Linked DNA regions of Homo sapiens: all the other regions are linked to region 1. Evidence: promoter capture Hi-C in human tissues and cell types (Jung and others, 2019). All regions are on one chromosome and are shown on one strand. The core of a region is centred on a gene start or on the middle of the fragment in contact, and the rest is flanking DNA. Distances in the headings are between cores, read along the strand shown. Region 1 holds the start of NKX6-2 (NK6 homeobox 2). Region 2 overlaps INPP5A (inositol polyphosphate-5-phosphatase A). Region 3 overlaps INPP5A (inositol polyphosphate-5-phosphatase A).

Region 1 (2,575 bases), core at 22-2,521:
GCGGCCGCACCACTGCCCCGGAGTTTGGCCGCAGGTGGCTTTTCCAAGCCGCCATCCAGGAGCGGCCGACGGCGCCAAGTCCCCGCCTCGACCTGCACAAAACGAAAACGGACGCTGGAGGGGGGCGAGGGGGCGGACGTGAGACCCCGGCCCCGAACCCCGGGCGCCGCCTTCCTCCGCGGCACAGGCCCGAGAGAGGCCACGCAGCGGCGTTCCCTGCGCACAGACTCGGGCTCCCCACGAGCCGTGGGCCACAGCCACAGCCGCCCCGTGTCCCTAAATCAATACGAGACGTCACCACAGACGTCGGAGCGTTTGCTCGCGGCCGCCGTGCGCGGGGCTCGGAGTCATCTCACCGCCCGGTCTGCGGGATGGATGAGCGAGCGGCTCCCGGTGCCGTGGGGGCGGGGGGGACACCGGCCCCCCGCGCGCGTCTAAGGCCGCGTTTCTGCCGCTGCGCCCCCAGCCCGCACCCACGTTCGGGCCCTGGACAGGGCTTCCGCGCTGAGGCCGTCCTGGTCTCTGTTCTCCCGGCCGGGGATTCGCGAGAGGCGGCCCGTGGGCGAAGTCGTGGGCCCAGGTCACATCCTGGGGGACCCCCAGCGGGAGACCTGGAGGCCGATGACGGGGAAGTGCCGAGCCGCGCGTGTGGTCCCGGGACCCGCCTCCCCGCCCCGCTCCCGCCTGCCTCACTCCTCCACCGCGCCGGCCGCGTGTCGGCGAAACCAGAGGCAGCTCCGTGCGAGCCTCGCCCGGCCGTGAGGCCCGTGGATTCCGTGGACTCGAGGCCCGCGTCCTCCGCCCTCCTGTGGCCCCGACCTGCCCGGAGCGCGTTCCCCGCCGGCGTCCGCTGCCGCTCACACCCACCCCAGCCACGGGCGGCGGAGCAGTCGCGACTGGGACGCGGGCCGGGACTCTTCCCCGAGTGGGGCGCTCCGAGCGCGCGGGCGGGTCCTCAAATCTGCATTCTTTCCGTTAATAAAATACGTTCTCGTATTTTTTCCTGATTTCGCATGAAAACCTTTGCCTAACTACACTCCCATCCAAGCTGGATTTATTTCGTCCCCGGGGAGATAAATCGGGGCGAATTTACAGCCCGGGAGGCACCTGCCGCGCTAATGGGCCCTTCATGGAGTGCGCGGCCGGCGGGGGCGCGCGGGCGGGGGGGGGGCGCCGGCCAATGGCCGGACCGCGGGGTCCGCAGCCAATCAGCGCGCGCGCCGCGCCCCGGGGAGCCCCCGTTATCAGCGCGTCCGTCCCGCGCGGCGCCGCTCCGACCGGCCCCGGAGCCGCCGCCGCCGCCGCCCGCCCGCCCGCCCCGCGCCGGAGCCGCCCGCCCGCCCCCCGCGCCCCGCGCCCCGCGCTGCAGCCGACGCCCGCCCGGGCCGCGCGCAAACTTCCCGGGCCGGCGGGCAGGGGCGGCGGCGGCGGGGCCCGGATGGGAGCCCGGGCCGGCGGCGGCGGCGCCCATGGACACTAACCGCCCGGGCGCGTTCGTGCTGAGCAGTGCCCCGCTGGCCGCGCTGCACAACATGGCCGAGATGAAGACGTCGCTGTTCCCCTACGCGCTGCAGGGTCCGGCCGGCTTCAAGGCGCCCGCGCTGGGGGGCCTGGGCGCGCAGCTCCCGCTCGGGACCCCGCACGGCATCAGCGACATCCTGGGCCGGCCCGTGGGCGCGGCGGGCGGGGGCCTCCTGGGGGGGCTGCCCCGGCTCAACGGGCTCGCGTCGTCCGCCGGCGTTTACTTCGGGCCCGCGGCCGCTGTGGCGCGCGGCTACCCCAAGCCCCTGGCCGAGCTGCCGGGGCGCCCGCCCATCTTCTGGCCCGGCGTGGTGCAGGGCGCGCCCTGGAGGGACCCGCGTCTGGCTGGCCCGGGTGAGTGGCCCGCGCGGGGGGTGCGGGGCGGGTGGGCGCGGAGGGGGACCCCGCCGGCCGCTGACCTCCCTCCCTTCCCCTCCCTTGCAGCCCCGGCCGGCGGCGTCCTGGACAAGGACGGGAAGAAGAAGCACTCGCGCCCGACCTTCTCGGGCCAGCAGATCTTCGCGCTGGAGAAAACCTTCGAGCAGACCAAGTACCTGGCGGGCCCGGAGCGCGCGCGTCTCGCCTACTCGCTGGGCATGACCGAGAGCCAGGTGAAGGTGAGCGCGGCGGGGCTCGGGAGAGCAGAGCCGGGGGCCCGCGTCCTGCGAACGGCCCCAGCGCCAGCCCCGGGCCCCGCGGCCGCCTGACCGCCCCGTCCACTCCCAGGTCTGGTTCCAGAACCGCCGGACCAAGTGGCGCAAGCGGCACGCGGTGGAGATGGCGTCGGCCAAGAAGAAGCAGGACTCGGACGCCGAGAAGCTGAAGGTGGGCGGCTCGGACGCGGAGGACGACGACGAATACAACCGGCCCCTGGACCCCAACTCGGACGACGAGAAGATCACGCGGCTGCTCAAGAAGCACAAACCCTCGAACTTGGCGCTGGTCAGCCCGTGCGGCGGCGGCGCGGGGGACGCCTTGTGAGGACCCGCGGGGTGGGGGCGAATCTATTTTTGCAGAATCCGGGGGCGGCCCCGGGTGGGCGCGAGTCGCTTTG
Region 2 (2,575 bases), core at 22-2,521, 110 kb after region 1:
TCTCCAGAGGGCCATGGATGCTCTGAATCAGCGTCCAATATATGATACTGTTTCTCCCATAGCCAGGATTCACGGGTCCGGGAATCAAGGGTGGAAGTGGAAGTGGCACCACTCACCATCACCCCTAATGATCCACTAGCAAAAGTTTTGCTTCCTGTTCCTGCAACATTACGTTCTGCTGGCCTAGCGTTATTAGTTCCAGAGGGAAGAATGCTGCCACCGCGAGACCAAACAGCAATCCCACTGAACTGGAAGTTAAGATTGTCACCTGGATACTCTGGGCTCCTCCTACCTTTATGTCAATAGGCTAAGAAAGGAGTTACACTGTTGGGGTGATTGATCTGGTCTATCAAGGTGAAATCAGTCTACTACTCTGCAACGAAGCTAAGGAAGAGTATACATGGAATACAGGAGATCCATTAGGGCGTCCCATAGTATTACCATGCCTTGTGATTAAGGTCAACGGGAAACTACAACAGCCCAATCCAGGCAAGACTACAAGTGACCCAGACCCCTCAGGAATGAAGGTTTGGGACATTCCACCAGGAAAAAAACCACGACCCGCTGAGGTGATGCTGAAGGCAAAGGGAATACAGAATGGACAGTAGAAGAAGGCAGTCATCAATACCAGGGGAGTGGGGTGGGGCGTGGAAGGCGTGGGGTCCAACGCACATGTAACTGGAACCTAGAGGGAATGCAGAGGGGGAGTGGAAGTCGTTTTTGAAGAGATGAGAAATCACGTTTTTCCAAACTTAGGAAAGACCTTGTATTAGTTTGTTTTCACACTGCTGATAAATACATACCCGAGACTGAGGAATTTACAAAAGAAAGAGGTTTAATATGGACTTACAGTTCCACATGGCTGGTAAGGCCTCACAATCATGGCAGAAGGCAAGGAGGAGCAAGTCACATCTTATATGGATGGAAGCAGGCAAAGAAAGAGCTTGTGCAGGGAAACTCCTCTTTGTAAAACCATCAGATCTCATGAGACCCACCCACCACCATGAGAACACCATGGGAAAGACCTGCCCCCATGATCCCCTTGCCTCCCGCAGGGTCCCTCCCATAACATGTGGGAATTCAAGATGAGATTTGGGTGGGGACGCAGCCAAACCATATTATTCCATCCCGACCCCTCCCAGATCTCCTGTCCTCACATTTCAAAACCAATCGCCAACCCAAATATTATTTCATAAAGTTGACAATACTTAAATGCTGATATGAAGTGAATAAATCTTATGTCACATGATAAAGGAAAAGGAAATAAAATGAAGATATTTTCTTAGTACAAGTGTATACATGCACAAACATGTTTTTAGCAAAAGAATGTCACAATGCTCAATAAGAGCCACTTAACAAAACGTAGTTCTCTCCCTACATCCTTGGGAAAGGAACTACTGAATTTTGACCTCTAACGAAACCTGTCCTCAAGCTTTAAAACCTACAGTTTAGCTGAATATTGGACAACAGTCACCTCTAATCAATGCTGTCCACCCTGAGCACCACCCCCACCGTCACCCTGGCTGAAGCTGGCCTTTCCTGCGCTGTCCCCTTCTGAGAGCAGAGCAGGCTGGTTGAGAGTACAGGCTCTGAGGCCAGAACCAAGTTCAAATCCCACATTGGCCTCTTCTGGTTGGTCCCTGAACCTCTCTGTGCCTCAACATCTCTATCTGTGACACGGGGAAGACAAATAACAGTACCCACTTCATAGGGCTGCTCTGATCCCTGCATGGGTGGCACATGTAAGGCACATGAAACAGTATCAGGAAGCTCATGTGCCAACGGCTATTCCAGGAGGTGTTGGTGCTGCTTCCTGTCAGCACCTTCCCATGCTGGAGGAGCCGCAGAATACGGCCCCAACACATCCTTGGCTGATGATGGGATCAACAGGCATGGCAGGAAGGGCTGTGCCAGCCAAGAAGGTTGTGTCCTTCCAAAGCAAGGAGGTAGATACCGAAGCAGAAAGGGTGGAGTCAGAAGCAGGGAGGGCGGAGTCCAGAGCAGGGAGGGCCGAGTCCGAAGCAGGGAGGGCGGAGTCCGAAGCAGGGAGGGCGGAGTCCAGAGCAGGGAGGGCGGAGTCCGAAGCAGGGAGGGCGGAGTCCGAAGCAGGGAGGGCGGAGTCCGAAGCAGGGAGGGCACAAGCCTCGCCGCAGCCCACGTTTGAACTCTCCACTCCTAAGTCATCTGTGCCTCCCTTGGGCCCAGGGGAGGCCACGGCTCCAGGGGCCCCAGTTGCCCACTGGCCACCAGTGTGACCCACTGTCCCAATCAGAAGGGAGAGACAGGGACACTCCTGACAGATGGAGGCGTGCCCACATGCCCATGCCTCACTCCAGAAGGAGTGGGCCACCTGCTGCTTCCAACAATATGAAAGAGAGACCTTCTCTTTTCTTTACTGAGGCCAAACCATGAGCAACCCTTACGGGAAAAGACATCCAAAGAAAGCTATCTCCCACTAATGGCCCTGTTATAAATTAGACCTGACTGACAAAGACCAAGGAAAAGTGACGCCCGTCAAGCCGTCACCGCCGTTTGCAGTTTCTCCACTTTGGCACCGCTGTCCTGACCACATGAA
Region 3 (2,575 bases), core at 31-2,530, 92 kb after region 1:
TGGGGGGCACCTACTTTCCAACCATAGAACTATCCATGAAGATGAAATCTCTCTCCATTTATCTAGATCTTCCTTATTTCATCAGAGTTTTATAGTTTTCCTCACAGAGATCTTGTATTAATTTGTTAGATTTATTCCTAAGTACTTCCTTTTGGTGTGTGCTTAAGCAAATGGTATTATGTTTTTAATTTAAAATTCCACCTGTTCATTGCTGCTACACAGGAAAGCAATTGATTTCTGTATCTTAACTAGGCATCCTGCAATGTTGCTATAATTGCTTACTGGTACCAGGTTTGTCTGTTATTGTTGCTGACTCTTTGAGATTCTTGACATAATCATATCATCTGAGAACAGAAATAGTTCTATCTCCCATCACCCCATCAACATGGCTTTTATTTCCTTTTCTTGTCTTATTACATTATCTAAGATTTTCAGTAAGATGTTGAAGAGAAGTAGGAGAGGAGGCATCCTTGCCTTGTTCCTGATCTCATAGGAAAAGCATCTAATTTCTCATTAAGTGTGGTATTCATTGTAGGATTTTTGGAGCTCTTCTTTATCAGGTTGAGGAACTTCCCCTCTATTCCTAGTTTGCTGGGAGTTTTTTTTCAAACAATGAAGAGATGTGGATTTTGGGAAATGCTTTTTCTGCATCTATCCTATGATCATGTGATTTTCCTTCTTTTGCCTGCTGCTGTGATGGATTACATTAATTGATTTTTAAATGCTGAACCAGCCTCTATACCAGGAGTAAATCTCGGTTGGTCATAGTATATAACTGACTCTTGAGAATTTTGTTGAGCATTTTTGTTTACAGTTCATAGTTTTCCTTCTTTGTAATGTCTTTATCTGGTTTTAGTATTAGGGTAATGCTGGCCTCATAGAATGATTTAGGACGTTTGTCCTCTGCTTATATTTTCTGGAAAAGATTGTAGAGAACTGGTATAACGTCTTCCTTAAATGCTTGATAGAATTCACCAGTGAAACCATTTGGTCTGATGCTTTCTTTTTCAGCAGGTTATTAATTACTTATTCAGTGTTGTTAATAGCTATAGACCTGTTCAGATTCTCTAGTTTTCCTTTTATGAGTTTTCATAGATTGTGTCTTTCAAGGAATTGGCCCATCTAAGTTATTACATTTATAGGCAGAAATTAATGATATTCTTTTATTATCCTTTAAATGTCCACAGGATCGGCAGTAATGGCCCCTCTCTAATTTCTGATATTAATAATCTGTGTCTTCTCTCTCTTTTTCTTAGTCTGGCTAGAGGTTTATCGATTTTATTGATCGCTTTAAAGAATCAGCTTTTGGTTTTGCTAATTTTCTCTATTCATTTCCTGTTTTCAATTCTGTTGCTTTCTGTTCCAATTTTCATTATTTCTTTTCTTCTGCTTACTTTGGAATTTTCTTTTCTTCTCCTAGCTTCCTAAGGTAGAAGCTTAGATAATTGATTTTAGCTCTTTCTTCCTTTCTTCTTAGCACTTTTTTCTTTTTAGCTCTTTCTTATATGCATTTGATGCTATAAATTTACCTCTAAACATTACTTTTGCTAATATCCCATGAATGTTAAGCTGTATTTACGTTTTCATTTGGTTCAAAATATTTTTAAATTTCTCTTGAGACTTCTTTGACTCATATGTTATTTAGATATGTGTTGTTTAATGTTCAAGTATTTGGGGATTTTCCAGCTACTTTTCTGGTGCTGATTTCTGGTTTAATTCCATTGTAATCTATGAGCATGCTGTATATGGTTTCTGTTCTTTTAAATTTGTAAAGGTGTGTTTTATGGCCCAGAATGTGATGTCTCAGTGAATGTTCCAGGCGAGCTTGACAAAAACGTAGATTCTGCTGTTACTGGATGAGGTATCCTATAAGTGTCAATTAGATCAATTTGTTTGATGGTGCTGTTGAGTTAAACTATGTCTTTCCTGATTTTATGCTTGCCAGATCTGTTCATTCCTGATACAGGGTGTTGAAGTCTCTAACTATGATAGTGGGTTCATCTGTTTCTCTTGGCAGCTCTACTTGGTTTGCCTTGTGTATTTGACACTCTGTTGTTAGGCAGCTAGATACTAAGGATTGTTATGTATTCTTGGAGATCTGATCTTTTCATCATGATGTAATGTCCCTCTTTACTGCTGAAAACTTTCCTAGCTCTGAAGTCTGCTCTGCCTATTCTGATAATTTCTGACATGAATAATTTGTGTCATTTTTTTTCTTAGTCTGGCTAGAGGTTTATCCATTTTATTGTTTTTTTCAAACAACCAGCTTTTGGTTTAATTTACTTTTCTTCTAGTTTCCTAAGGTACAAGCTTAGATAATTGATTTCAGATCTTTCTGCTTTTCTAATATATGTATTTGATGCTATAAATTAATATAGCTCCTCCAGCTTTCTTTTGGCCCATTTAAGTTTTCCTTTGATTCATGTTAGAACACTATACCTTCCTCCATCCCTTATCTATTAATCTTTAGGTGTTTATATAAATGGGTTTCTAGAAGACAACATATAGTTGGGTATTTTTTTTAATCCACTCTGACAGTCTCTGTCCTTTAATTGGTATATTTAGACCATTCACA

Evidence for each region. Contacts are between HindIII fragments. The study calls those that stand out against the background at their distance.
Region 2: a fragment that was not itself captured here is called in contact with the fragment with the promoter of NKX6-2 in region 1 in 2 of the 25 tissues and cell types used here (H1 embryonic stem cells and mesendoderm cells).
Region 3: a contact is called between a fragment that was not itself captured here and the fragment with the promoter of NKX6-2 in region 1, in 2 of the 25 tissues and cell types used here (H1 embryonic stem cells and hippocampus).

The regions. Positions count from the first base shown.
Region 1 is chr10:132,784,843-132,787,417 of GRCh38, reverse strand. NKX6-2 (NK6 homeobox 2) reads left to right here and starts at 1,271. Exons shown (of 3, transcript NM_177400.3): 1 at 1,271-1,875; 2 at 1,966-2,138; 3 at 2,248-2,575. The coding sequence starts at 1,470. The coding sequence ends at 2,502. The HindIII fragment of the contact is 14,696 bases long and covers 1-2,575 here.
Region 2 is chr10:132,670,883-132,673,457 of GRCh38, reverse strand. The region is part of intron 4 of INPP5A (inositol polyphosphate-5-phosphatase A); the gene reads right to left. Among named protein-coding and RNA genes, the nearest start is that of NKX6-2, 110 kb to the left of the region's middle. The HindIII fragment of the contact is 5,981 bases long and covers 1-2,575 here.
Region 3 is chr10:132,693,339-132,695,913 of GRCh38, reverse strand. The region is part of intron 5 of INPP5A (inositol polyphosphate-5-phosphatase A); the gene reads right to left. Among named protein-coding and RNA genes, the nearest start is that of NKX6-2, 92 kb to the left of the region's middle. The HindIII fragment of the contact is 5,717 bases long and covers 1-2,575 here.